Linked DNA regions of Homo sapiens: region 1 is linked to region 2. The links are contacts of gene promoters, found by promoter capture Hi-C in blood cells and fetal thymus (Javierre and others, 2016). All regions are on one chromosome and are shown on one strand. Each heading gives the region's core, a stretch centred on a gene start or on the middle of the fragment in contact. The rest is flanking DNA. Distances are from core to core; before and after follow the strand shown.

Region 1 (6,590 bases), core at 237-2,736, 690 kb after region 2:
TCAGATTGGAAAGTAAGTCGTAATATACAGGATTAAATAAAACCCATCTGATGAGAATTTATGGTTTGTGGGTCATGACTCCCCATACCCCTTAATAAGGAATTTAGGCCAGATAAAAAATCAGAGCTTAGTCTTTACTAGATATCTGCTGTATTTCTAACTGGACTTCCTTACTTCACTTTTGCCCCACTATATCTGTTTTCCATACAGCAGGCAACCAGTTCTTGTTAATACATAATAAATCCTGCACTACCACAAATTTCTAAAATCCAGTTTACTCAAAAGAAAATCCAAATTTCTTTCCATGACCTATACTTCCCTACATAATCTTACCTTTGCTTGTCTCCCTGGCCCTATTTCCTACATTTTCTCACCTCATTTATTCCACTCTAACCACATTTTTTATTCCTTAAAAAATGCCAAATTTGTTTTGTTCCAATTTCAAATGCCTGCACCTTCTTCCATCTGCTTGAAATAAACTTTCTCCAGATTTTCACATGACCTGCTCATTTACTTTATTACCAGTATCCGCCCAGGTGCAGTGGCTCATGCCTGTAATCCTAGCACTTCGGGAGGCCGAGGTGGGCAGATCACAAGGTCAGGCGTGCGGGACCAGCCTGGCCAATATGGTGAAACCCCGTCTCTACTAAAAATACAAAAATTAGCCAGGCATGATGGCACGTGCCTATAATCCCAGCTACTCAGTAGGCTGAGGCAGGAGAATCGCTTGAACCCCAGAGGCAGAGGTTGCAGTGAGCCAAGATCAAGTCACTGCACTCCACTCCGGATGACAAAGAAAGACTCCATCTCAAAAAAAAAAGAAAATTACCAGTATCCTTGGCAAGTCCATCTAAAATAGGATTCACTGCTTCCAACACTCTCTAGCCTTTTACTTTGCTTTACTTTGACTTTACTTTCATTTTACTTTGCTTTACTACAACAATATCTATCATGAAGGTTGATATCAAATGATAATTTAGCTGATACAATTTTTGTTGAGCCTCCAACTGTGAATGAGAAAATAAAGCCTAAAGTTCATAGTACAGCTAATGACCATTAGATATTTTCTCTGTGAAAGTTTGCTAATCAGCTGAATAATTTTTCTCCTATAGGAATAGCAATAATTATAGTGGCTCATATAAAATATGCTCATGTATTAACATCCATCTCTACTGTAAATATATAATGAGCTTTGTGTTAGTCTGCTTGCATTACTATAAAAGAATACCTGAGGCTGGGTAATCTATAAAGAAAAGGGGTTAAGTTGACTCATAGTTCTACAGGCTGTGCATGAAGCATAGTGCCAGCATCTGCTTCTGATGAGGGCTTCAGGAAGCTTACAATCATGGTGGAAGGCAAAGGGGCGACAGTGTGCCACATGGTGAGAGTAGGAGCAAGCGAGATGCCAGACTCTTAAACAACAAGCTCTTGTGTGAACGAACAGTGAGAACTCATTACTTCAGGAGGGATCTACCCACATGACCCAAACACCTCCAAATAATACAGGAATTATTAAGAAATAACTTTTAGGCCGCTAGAAAGGGTAAAGGTTCTCAGTGGAAATTTTCCTGTAATAAGAAGCAACCCCCAAACCATTTCTTTTCTAACAGAAAGGCAGCTTGAAAAACCAGGCCGGCAAGCTTTGATATGCAAATGCTGGCGATTAGAAACTGGGTCCACCCAACATGGCCAACAGGAAGAGTGCCACCCTCTCCTCCTCATCACTACATGTGCCAAGTGTCATGATTGCCTCCAGATAACATGGATATCATGGTGACCTGCATTTGCATATTAAAGGAGTAAGGTAGGAGTGCCAGGTTTTTCACGGGCTATGTGAATGACACGCCTGGTCAAACCAATCTCCTGGGCCCTATGCAAATTAGACACCTCCTCCTCCAGCCTCCTGCTATAACAAACTACTCTGCCACACACGGGGTTTCTCTCTGGGAGCCCCCCTCCCTCTGTCCCTGTACTGGGAAGCTTCTTCCTTCTTTCTTGCTTATTAAACTCTCCACTCCTTAAAACCACTCTACATGTGTCCATGTCGCTTTATCTAAAACGATGTTAGACCAAGGACCCTGCTGTTCTTCCATTCATCAGAGCAGTTATCATTTTGGTTGCATTGACCGGGAATTCATTCATCGGAGTGGTGACTATAGAGCGAGCCCCAACCTCAAATCTCTCCTTCAATTTCAAGGCTCTCTTCTTACTATCCTGTTGCAAAATTTTCCTTCTTTCTCTATCCACGGTCTCTTACTCTCTCTCTGTGAAAAGTGCAGGGAGTTTTACAGTTCAGTGAAACAGGTCTGCTAGGAAAGATGGCAAACGCAGCAGGCAGTAACTCAACAAGCCCGCTCTCTGTGGCTGCGCTGGTGAGCATATAGTATTTCTAAGCCAACAGCGCCACCTAGTGGAAGTAGAAATCCTCTTCAGGGGCCACATTTTTTACGGTAACACTGAACTTCCTTTTGCACCACCAGAAATCAGGCTCTAACCTACTTCTGTGAACCGGAAAGTTCTGCCTTCAGCAATTAGAAGTAATATGTCCTCGACCGGGCATGGTGGCTTACGCCTGTAATCCCAACACTTTGGGAGGCCAAAGCGGGTGGATCACGAGGTCAGGAGTTCGAGACCAGCCTGGCCAATATGGTGAAACCCCGTCTCTACTAAAAACACAAAAATTAGCTGGGCGTGGTGGTGCACACCTGCGGTCCCAGCTGCTCAGGAGGCTGAGGCTATTGAATTGCTTAAAACGGGGAAGCAGAGGTTGCAGTGAGCTGAGATTACGTCACTGCACTCCAGCCTGGGTGACAGTGAGACTCTGTCTCAAAAAGAAGTAATATGTCTGCTGCCACATTTTAGTCTTGATATTGTCCCATAAGCAGGAAAATGGCCATTCTGTTCCTACGCTCTTTTAAGACATCTAATCTGTTTCCTGTTAAAATGGTATAATTAGTAGGGAGATTTTAAGTTCAGAAGTTAACCAGAACCATTTTTCTGAGGGTAAATGGTTTGGCATGGGCCATAATAGCAGGCAGTCTAGCACATTGCCTCTGTTAAAGGAGCCTTGACCAAAAACAACACAGTCTCTCCAAAGATCAATTTTTCAGGGAGCCAGGTAGATCACATAGGCTTAGGAAGTCAAAGGGAATCACACAAGGCAGATAAGCTAAGGTTGCGTGGGTAAAGTGTGGTTAATCCCATTGAGAGGTGACAGCGTGCTAGCAGTCCTCACAGCTCTCGCTCGCTCTCGGCGCCTCCTCTGCCTGGGCTCCCACTTTGGCGGCACTTGAGGAGCCCTTCAGCCCACCGCTGCACTGTGGGAGCCCCTTTCTGGGCTGGCGAAGGCCGCAGCCCGCTCCCTCAGCTTGCAGGGAGGTGTGGAGGGAGACGCGCGAGCGGGAACCGGGGCTGCGCGCGGCGCTTGCGGGCCAGCTGGAGTTCCGGGGGGGCGTGGGCTTGGCGGCCCCGCACTCGGAGCAGCCGGCCGGCCCTGCCGGCCCGGGGCAGTGAGGGGCTTAGCACCCGGGCCAGCGGCTGCGGAGGGTGTACTGGGTCCCCCAGCAGTGCCAGCCCACCGGCGCTGCGCTCGATTTCTCACCGGGCCTTAGCTGCCTTCCCGCGGGGCAGGCCTTGGGACTGCAGCCCGCCATGCCTGAGCCTTCCCCCGCCTCCGTGGGTTCCTGTGCAGCCGGAGCCTCCCCGACGAGCGCCGCCCCCTGCTCCACGGCGCCCAGTCCCATCGACCGCCCAAGGGCTGAGGAGTGCAAGCGCATGGCGTGGGACTGCAGCGCCGGTGCGGGATCCACTGGGTGAAGCCAGCTGGGCTCCTGAGTCTGGTGAGGACGTGGAGAATTTATGTTTAGCTCAGGGATTGCAAATACACCAATGGACACTCTGTATCTAGCTCAAGGTTTGTAAACACACCAATCAGCACCCTGTGTCTAGCTCAGGGTTGTGAGCGCGCCAATCGACACTCTGTATCTAGCTGCTCTGGTGGGGCCTTGGAGAACCTTTGTGTGGATACTCTGTATCTAACTAATCTGATGGGGAGGAGGAGAACCTTTGTACCTAGCTCAGGGATTGTAAACGCACCAATCAGCGCCCTGTCAAAACAGACCACTCGCCTCTACCAATCAGCAGGATGTGGTTGGGGGGGGGCCAGATAAGAGAATAAAAGCAGGCTGCCCGAGTTGGTAGTAGTAACCCGCTCGGGTGTCTCTCTGCCTTGGTGGGGCTTTGTTCTTTCGCTCTTGGGGTCCATACTACTTTTGTGAATTACAGCACTCACCACGAAAGCTTGCGAGACCACGAGCCTACCGGGAGGAACGAACAACTCCCGACGCGCTGCCTTAAGAGCTGTAACAGTGACCGCAAAGGTCTGCAGCTTTACTCCTGAGCCCGCCAGACCATGAACCCACCAGAAAGAAAAAACTGAACACACCTGCACATCAAAAGGAACAAACTCCAGACGCGCCACCTTAAGAGCTGTAACACTCACCGTGAGGGTCTGCGGCTTCATTTTTGAAGTCAGTGAGACCAAGAACCCACCCATTCCGGACACACCATCACTTAGTTCATCCGCTCCCATGGCTTGGGGGACCATGCTTACAATCGTGGGTGGCACATTTAACAGGGTCCCAGGAACCAGGGAAGGAAAACAGGACACTCCACTGTGTTATTCTCCGTCGGGGGTCATAGGGAATCAAAGTAGATTAAAAGGACACTTTTATTGCTTTTCTTTCTAGATGGGTAACAGATTATCTTCAGTTTGTGCCCCTCTGGCGTGCACTCTGAAACACTGAAACTTTCTTAGCCTCAGGACATTAAAGAGAAGAGCAACTCATTTTATTTTGCACAAGGGCATGGTATTTTTACTGAAACTTTGCAAGCAGTGTAAGATCAACCCAGCTCTTTTAGGAATCATATCAGGCACGCTCACTGAAAATAATTCCCCAAAATTAGAAAAGCAACTTCCAGAGGAGCCATCTGAAGATCCCCCTTCTTTGGGGGCCCCTTCAAGTTCCCTTCTCGTTACAGCCCCTTAGGCCTGTAATAAAGGGAGACTTAGCCAATTTTCTCACAACCCTGATAGGTATATAAAAGCTTTCCAGGCTGGGCGCAGTGGCTCACGCCTGTAATCCCAACACTTTGGGAGGCTGAGGCGGGCAGATCACGAGGTCAAGAGATTGAGACCATCCTGGTCAACATGGTGAAACCCCGTCTCTACTAAAAATACAAAAATTAGTTGGGCGTTGTGGCATGTGCCTGTAATCTCAGCTACTTGGGAGGCTGAGGCAGGAGAATCGCTTGCACCCAGGATGTGGAGGTTGCAGTGAGCCAAGATCACGGCACTGAACTCCAGCCTAGCAATAGAGTGAGACTCCGTCTCAAAAAAAAAGCTTTCCAAAATTTAACTCAGGTATTTCACCTCAGATGGAAGGATGTTATGTTGCTCCTAAGTCAGACCCTCACTGCAGCTGAAAAGCAGGCAGCTCTGATTTCAGAGATTAGCAACATATCTCCTATAATACACCAAAAGGGAAGAAAGCAGATAAGGAAAGAGAAGAAATAGCAGAAATGCCATTCCCAATTGGGAGGAAAGCAGTTTCCCTTGACAACCCTAATTGGGACCCCAATAACTCAGGAGATGAAAAGGAAGCTCTTTTTTAAGTGTGCATTAGAGGGCCTACGGAAAACCAGGGCCAAACCTCTCAATTACTCTAAACTGTCCATGATAAACAGCCAGATGAGAATCTTGTAGCCTTTATGGAAAGGCTGAGAGAGGCACTAACAGAACACCCCTCCTTATCCCCTGATTCAGTCGAGGGACAGCTCATCCTAAAGGACAAGTTTATTAGACAGGCAGCTGCCAATATTAAAAGGAAACTACACAAGCAAGCTATAGGACCAGATAGCACCTTAGAGAACTTCCTGAAAGTGGCCACTTTGGTCTTTTGTAATAGGAACCAGGAGGAGGCCCAAAAGAAAGAGACAATGGTCAGAAGGACAGAGACTCTAGCAGCAGCTTTGCAGGCTTGCAAAGTCCAGGATCCCGGAGGTGCATCTGCTAGTTGCTATCAGTGTGGCAGGCCAGAGCATGTTAAGAAAGAATGCCCATACAGCAAGACAAAGCCACCTCAACCCTCTCCAGCCTGTGGCAGAGACAACAGGAGATGGAACTGCCCCCAGAGGTGGAGGTCACTGGGTTCAGAACCAGTCTTACTGATGATCCAGCAGAACTGGATCCCGGGGCTCAAACTCCAGCTCCAGCGGCTCAAACTGCCATTACAGCACAGGAGCTCTGAGTGATTCTGGAAATTAAAAGAAGGAAAGTAGACCTCTTTCTAAACACTCAGCCAGTCTCTCTTTTTTCTCCTCTCTAATCCAGGCCTCCCCTCTTCCCATAGCACAACCAGAAGGGGCATCTCAGGAAAAACTCTACTCCAGTATTTTTCTCAACCTTAGTTGACACGTGCTTCCAAGCCATTATCATGACAGCTCGCTAATCAGAAAAGCCTCCAAGTTAACCCTAGGAAATAATTTAACTGTTTACACCCCACATAATGTGGCAGGATTACTGTCCTCTA
Region 2 (6,116 bases), core at 3,418-5,917:
TTCCCTGGCCACAAAGCCTGTATGCCCCACAGCCCAGTTCTCTCCATAGTCTAGTATCCTTCCCATGACAGAGGCCCACACGGGAGCTTTTGAAGGACACTTTTCTATTCTCACAGCCCCATTCTCCCAAGCCCTTCACAAACCTGTCTTCTTATTTATTTTTTTGAGACATGGTCTGGCTCTGCCACCCAGGCTGGAGTGTAGTGGCGCAATCACAGCTCACTGCAGCCTCGACTTCCCGGTCTCAAGTGATCCTCCTACCTCAGCCTCTGGAGTAGCTGGGATTACAGGCGTGTGTCACCATACCTGGCTACTTTTTGTATTTTTGGTAGAGACGGGGTTTCGCCATGTTGGCCATGGCTGGTCTCAAATTCCTGAGCTCAAAGCGATCCACCCACCTCGGCCTCCCAAAGTCCTGAGATTACAGGCGTGAGCCACCGTGCCCAACCCACAAACCTATCTTCTGATTTCTCTGGATTCAACTCATTTTTTGCCATTTTCTCCTCTTCTCCCTCTGCGAGGTCTTTCATGTTTTTCCCCATCTCTAGATCTGTAACTTTCTAGAAAGGGCCCTGTAGCTTTGGGTTTGGGTGTCATAGGCGATAATGAGCTTTACTTACTATCCTTTCACCATTTTTTGGTTTTTGAGACGGAGTCTCGCCCTGTCACCAAGCTGGAGTGCAGTGGCGCGATCTCGGCTTACTGCAACCTCCGCCTCTGGGGTTCAAGTGATTCTTCTGCCTCAGCAGGCACTGCCTGCCCGAGTAGCTGGGACTGCAGGCGTGTGCCACCAAGTACAGCTAATTTTTGTATTTTTAGTAGACACGGGGTTTCACCATGTTGGCCAGGATAGTCTTGATCTCTTGACCTTGTGATCCACCCGCCTTGGCCTCCCAAAGTGCTGGAATTACAAGCGTGAGCCACCGCACCCGGCTTCCTTTTTTTCTTTTGCCCAGACTGGAGTGCAGTGGCGCGATCTCGGCTCACTGCAGCTTCCACCTCCCAGGTTCAAGCGATTCTCCTGCCTCAGCCTCCCGAGGAGCTGGGACTATAGGCGTGTGCCACCCTGCCTGGCTAATTTTTTTGTATTTTTTGTAGAAACAGGGTTTCACCATCTTGGCCAGGCTGGTCTTGAACTCCTCACCTCAGGTGAGCTGCCTGCCTCAGCCTCCCAAAGTGCTGAGATTATAGGCTTGAGCCACTGTGCCCGGCCTCTTCTTGTCTTATTTTCTAAACTTCTATCATCTTCCACCTTCTTCACGCAGTCTACCTCTCTCTGTCCTTCCCCTCAGACCCTTCTGATGACTGTAATCTCCTGTCCTGTGTCATCCATATGTCCCTCCTCCAGTAGGGCTCAGCCTGTCCACCCCTGCCAGGCCTCTAGTTCTTCCACTCTGCCTTTGTTCCACTTTGGACCTCCTTGTGTTTGTCTGACTCAGTTCCCAGGCTTGGATCCCTTCACCCAAATGCATGGTTTGCCCCAAACCTGCCTTCTGGTGACACCTTCCTCTTCTCTGCCCTCCAGCCTCTGCCTCGGTGCACCCTCTCATTGACCCCCTGGCCTCAGGGTCTCACCTTACCCGGATCCCCTACCCAGCTGGAACTCTCCCTAACCCCCTGCTTCCTCACCCTCTGCACGAGAACGAAGTTCTTCGTCACCAGCTCTTTGGTAAGGATGGAAGTTGGGGTAGGCAGCTCCAATGAGAAAAGGGCAGAAAGGAGGTATTTGGGTGGGGGGATGGGCCTAGTTGGGCTTGGGGAGGGATGAGGAGGTGCCTAGAGGAGCTGGGCATGGGAATAGGAGAGCTGGAGCTCTGCCCAAGAGAAGCACGAGTTTTAGTGTCAGCCTAAGAGGTTCGAATCCCAATTCCACCCTACCACTGGCAACTTACAGAACTGGGTGTGTTACCTCACTTTTTAGTTCATTACCTTTGTATGTAAAGGAGCTGGCTATCCCCTGGTCCAGAGCAGGTACTTGTTATCCGTTGGTCATATGCCCCTTGCCCTTCCTGCTCACAGCTGCCCCTTACCGGGACCTGCCGGCCTCCCTTTCTGCCCCGATGTCAGCAGCTCATCAGCTGCAGGCCATGCACGCACAGTCAGCTGAGCTGCAGCGCTTGGCGCTGGAACAGCAGCAGTGGCTGCATGCCCATCACCCGCTGCACAGTGTGCCGCTGCCTGCCCAGGAGGACTACTACAGGTACCCTAGGGTGCCCCAGCCCAGGGGACATGGGCTCAGCGAGCCTGGGAGGAGCTGTGGGCATGGTACGGCTGGGCACCGTGCTCCTGGGGGAGGGAACCCCTCCTCTCCCAACCCCTTCGGTAAGAGGGGGCAAGGTCAGAGTTGGTCTCAAGTCTCTTACCTCTCTGCTATGCACTGCCCCTTCCCTAGTCACCTGAAGAAGGAAAGCGACAAGCCACTGTAGAACCTGCGATCAAGAGAGCACCATGGCTCCTACATTGGACCTTGGAGCACCCCCACCCTCCCCCCACCGTGCCCTTGGCCTGCCACCCAGAGCCAAGAGGGTGCTGCTCAGTTGCAGGGCCTCCGCAGCTGGACAGAGAGTGGGGGAGGGAGGGACAGACAGAAGGCCAAGGCCCGATGTGGTGTGCAGAGGTGGGGAGGTGGCGAGGATGGGGACAGAAAGCGCACAGAATCTTGGACCAGGTCTCTCTTCCTTGTCCCCCCTGCTTTTCTCCTCCCCCATGCCCAACCCCTGTGGCCGCCGCCCCTCCCCTGCCCCGTTGGTGTGATTATTTCATCTGTTAGATGTGGCTGTTTTGCGTAGCATCGTGTGCCACCCCTGCCCCTCCCCGATCCCTGTGTGCGCGCCCCCTCTGCAATGTATGCCCCTTGCCCCTTCCCCACACTAATAATTTATATATATAAATATCTATATGACGCTCTTAAAAAAACATCCCAACCAAAACCAACCAAACAAAAACATCCTCACAACTCCCCAGGAACATGGCTGTGACTATTCTTTGCGGGATATGGGGGTGAGGCTGGGTCTCAGTGCAGCGGTGCTTAGAGAGAACTGCAGCCAGGGCCTGGCAGGGAAGCGGGAAGAGACCAGACCTTCTTAAGGAACGGGGTGTGGGGGCTGGGAAGAATTGGAGAGGGGATCCCTGAAGAGCCCAGAGCCTTGACTCAGCTGGAGGCGGTACCATGGGTGCTGGTGCCCCCTCCTGCCCCAAGGCTGGGCAGGACCGCTGCGCGCCAGTGGAGGCCTCGGTCTGGGCTCTGTGGCTTATGCCTGTGAGACGCGGGTGGATTGCTTGAGCCCAGGAGTTGGAAACCAGCTTGGGCAACATAGAGAAACCCCATCTTAAGACAAAATCAGCTGGGGGTTGTGGTGCACTTGTGGTCCCAGCTACTCAGGAGGCTGAGGTGGGAGGATCACTTGGGGGTCGAGGCTACAGTGAGTCATGATCGCACCACTGCACTCTAGCCTGGGTGACAGAGCAAGGCCCTATCTCAAAACAAACAAACAAAAGACACCCCAACCAACCAAACACTAGAGGCCTGGGACAGGCCCACCTCTGACGTGGTCAGTTCTAGGAATCTATTCAGACGGGTCTCACTGCTAGGAGCCACCAGAGTCCTCCGGAACAAGGGCTTCAGAGTCCTGAAACCTTTCCGTGGAATACTTTAAGAAACGGTTATGAGGCCAGGCGCGACGGCTCACGCTGGTAATCCCAGGACTTTGGGAGGCCGAGGCGGGCGGATCACGAGGTCAGGAGTTCCAGACCAGCTTGGCCAACATGGCAAAACCCTGTCTCTACTAAAAACAAAACATTAGCTGGGCATGGTGGCGCGCGCCTGTCGTCCCAGCGACTTGGGAGGTTGAGGCAGGAGAATCGCTTGAACCCGGGAGGTGGAGGTTATGGTGAGCCAAGATCCCCCCCAGCTGCACTCCAGCTTGGCGACAGAGCAAGACTCCGTCTCAAAAACAAAAAACAAAGCCGGTTATGAAGCGGGGGTGGGGTGGGCTAGTTTTAATAGGTCCAGGCGATTAGTACCTGGCATCCTTAACCACCTACAGTTTGAGAAGGGAGTGGGTGATAAAAGCCTGGAAGGGAAGGGAAATCGGGCCGGGCATTAGGCTCCATCGCTCATCAATAGACAAGGCCTTTAGGAAACTGCGACAACGGCTTTTGCTCTGGGCCTTTACTGCCGAATCCAGGTCTCCGGGCTTAACAACAACGAAGGGGCTGTGACTGGCTGCTTTCTCAACCAATCAGCACCGAACTCATTTGCATGGGCTGAGAACAAATGTTCGCGAACTCTAGAAATGAATGACTTAAGTAAGTTCCTTAGAATATTATTTTTCCTACTGAAAGTTACCACATGCGTCGTTGTTTATACAGTAATAGGAACAAGAAAAAAGTCACCTAAGCTCACCCTCATCAATTGTGGAGTTCCTTTATATCCCATCTTCTCTCCAAACACATACGCAGCAGTGTTACAGCTCTTTTAGAATTTGTCTAGTAGGCTTTCTGGCTTTTTACCGGAAAGCCCCTCTTATGATGTTTGTTGCCAATGATAGATTGTTTTCACTGTGCAAAAATTATGGGTAGTTTTGGTGGTCTTGATGCAGTTGTAAGCTTGGGGTATGAAGGTTTGGGCCACGCCTGGGCGCTTCCGGCTGCGCCGGATGCTGTTTCCTTTCCGCTCCCAGGGGCGTTGGGAACGGTTGTAGGACGTGGCTCTTTATTCGTGAGTTTTCCATTTACCTCCGCTGAACCTAGAGCTTCAGACGCCCTATGGCGTCCGCCTCGACCCAACCGGCGGCCTTGAGCGCTGAGCAAGCAAAGGGTGAGAATCGTCCTAGTCAAGGCATAGGCTGCTGGCCTGGGGTAGTCAAGGCATGGGCTGCTGGTCTGGGGAGGATGCGGGCGGAGGATGTGGGGCGACAAACCTGGCTACGTCCGCCGGGAAAATGGGGTAGGGGACGCCGGGTACCGTCCTTCTAAGTGGGGCGCTTGCCCCCAAGACTTGGGATCTTATTGGGTTACCTACAGCCTCAATCCACTAATTCCTTGCGCTCTCCGCTGGGCCCGCTGTCTGTTCTCCGACGCCTACCCGGGACGCCTCCCTGGGATGCTTCTGGCGCGCAGTGGTCCTCGCGGAGGTGATCCAGGCGTTCTCCGCCCCGGAGAATGCAGTGCGCATGGACGAGGCTCGGGATAACGCCTGCAACGACATGGGTAAGATGCTGCAATTCGTGCTGCCCGTGGCCACGCAGATCCAGCAGGAGGTTATCAAAGCCTATGGCTTCAGCTGCGACGGGGAAGGTGGGTCAGACGCGGGAAGGCGGGTCAGACGCGGGAAGGCGGGAGTTGGGTCGGGAGAGGGCGCCGGATCTGTGGGCCCATGAGCGGTTGTCCCCTTTCTCGCCACACGGCGGCAGCCACAATCTGACTAACATTCTTGGCACTCAGAGCCCAGGGTCTACCCTGAGCTTGTGCGTCCGAGTTGCGTTTTGTACAGTAGAGGTTCTGTATCCCTTACCCGAAATGGTTGGGACCGGAAGTGTTTCGGGTTTTTTCAGATTTCGGAATATTTACATATACATGGATATCTTGGGGGATGGGACCTAAATCTGAACACGAAATTGTTTTGTTTCATATACACGCACCTTATGCACATAGCCTGAGGGTAATTTTATATAATAGTCTGAATAATTTTGTGCATGAGACAAAGTTTTGACTGCGTTTTGACTACAGTCTCCCCCACCCCCCACTATGAAGTCAGGTGTGGAATTTTCCATTTTCGGCCTCACACTGGCACTCATAATTTCAGATTTTGGATTTTCTAATTAAGGATGGTCAACCTGTACTGTTAATCACATTATTATTCCATTTTGTGATGAGGAAGCAAACTCTAATGGTGCAGACTCTCGAGTAGCAGAGCTGGACTTAAATGCTGTTGTGCCACCTTTTAGTGACATGTCTGCATGACAGCAGTGGCTGCAGTCTCTCCAGGGTGTTTCAGCTAATTTTTGTTTGGGGGGGGTTGGTGGTTAAATTTTTGGTGAGATCCTGGTGTTCCCCAAAGGTGTTGACTGATTCAGCTCTGCTGCCTCATAGCCTTCCTGAGTTCCAGCTACAGA

The links. The method cuts DNA at HindIII sites, captures the fragments that hold promoters and counts their contacts. A CHiCAGO score of 5 or more calls a contact.
Region 1: a fragment that was not itself captured here is called in contact with the fragment with the promoter of C12orf57 in region 2 in 1 of 17 cell types (fetal thymus); the score reaches 5.3 in fetal thymus.

Annotation. Positions count from the first base shown.
Region 1 is chr12:7,636,454-7,643,043 of GRCh38, forward strand. No RefSeq gene overlaps it. Among named protein-coding and RNA genes, the nearest start is that of APOBEC1, 26 kb to the right of the region's middle. RefSeq lists an enhancer at 1,393-1,927 and silencers at 2,369-2,498, 3,580-3,679. The HindIII fragment of the contact is 304 bases long and covers 1,335-1,638 here.
Region 2 is chr12:6,939,355-6,945,470 of GRCh38, forward strand. C12orf57 (chromosome 12 open reading frame 57) reads left to right here and starts at 4,668. Exons shown (of 3, transcript NM_138425.4): 1 at 4,668-4,819; 2 at 5,122-5,298. The coding sequence starts at 4,768. It overlaps RNU7-1 (RNA, U7 small nuclear 1), which reads left to right and starts at 4,462; the gene lies at 4,462-4,524. It overlaps ATN1 (atrophin 1), which reads left to right. Exons shown (of 10, transcript NM_001940.4): 8 at 1,526-1,669; 9 at 2,020-2,200; 10 at 2,393-2,967. The coding sequence ends at 2,426. RefSeq lists enhancers at 4,476-5,055, 4,555-4,744, 5,045-5,164, 5,056-5,635, 5,175-5,324 and 1 more and a silencer at 4,958-5,217. The HindIII fragment of the contact is 10,579 bases long and covers 4,607-6,116 here.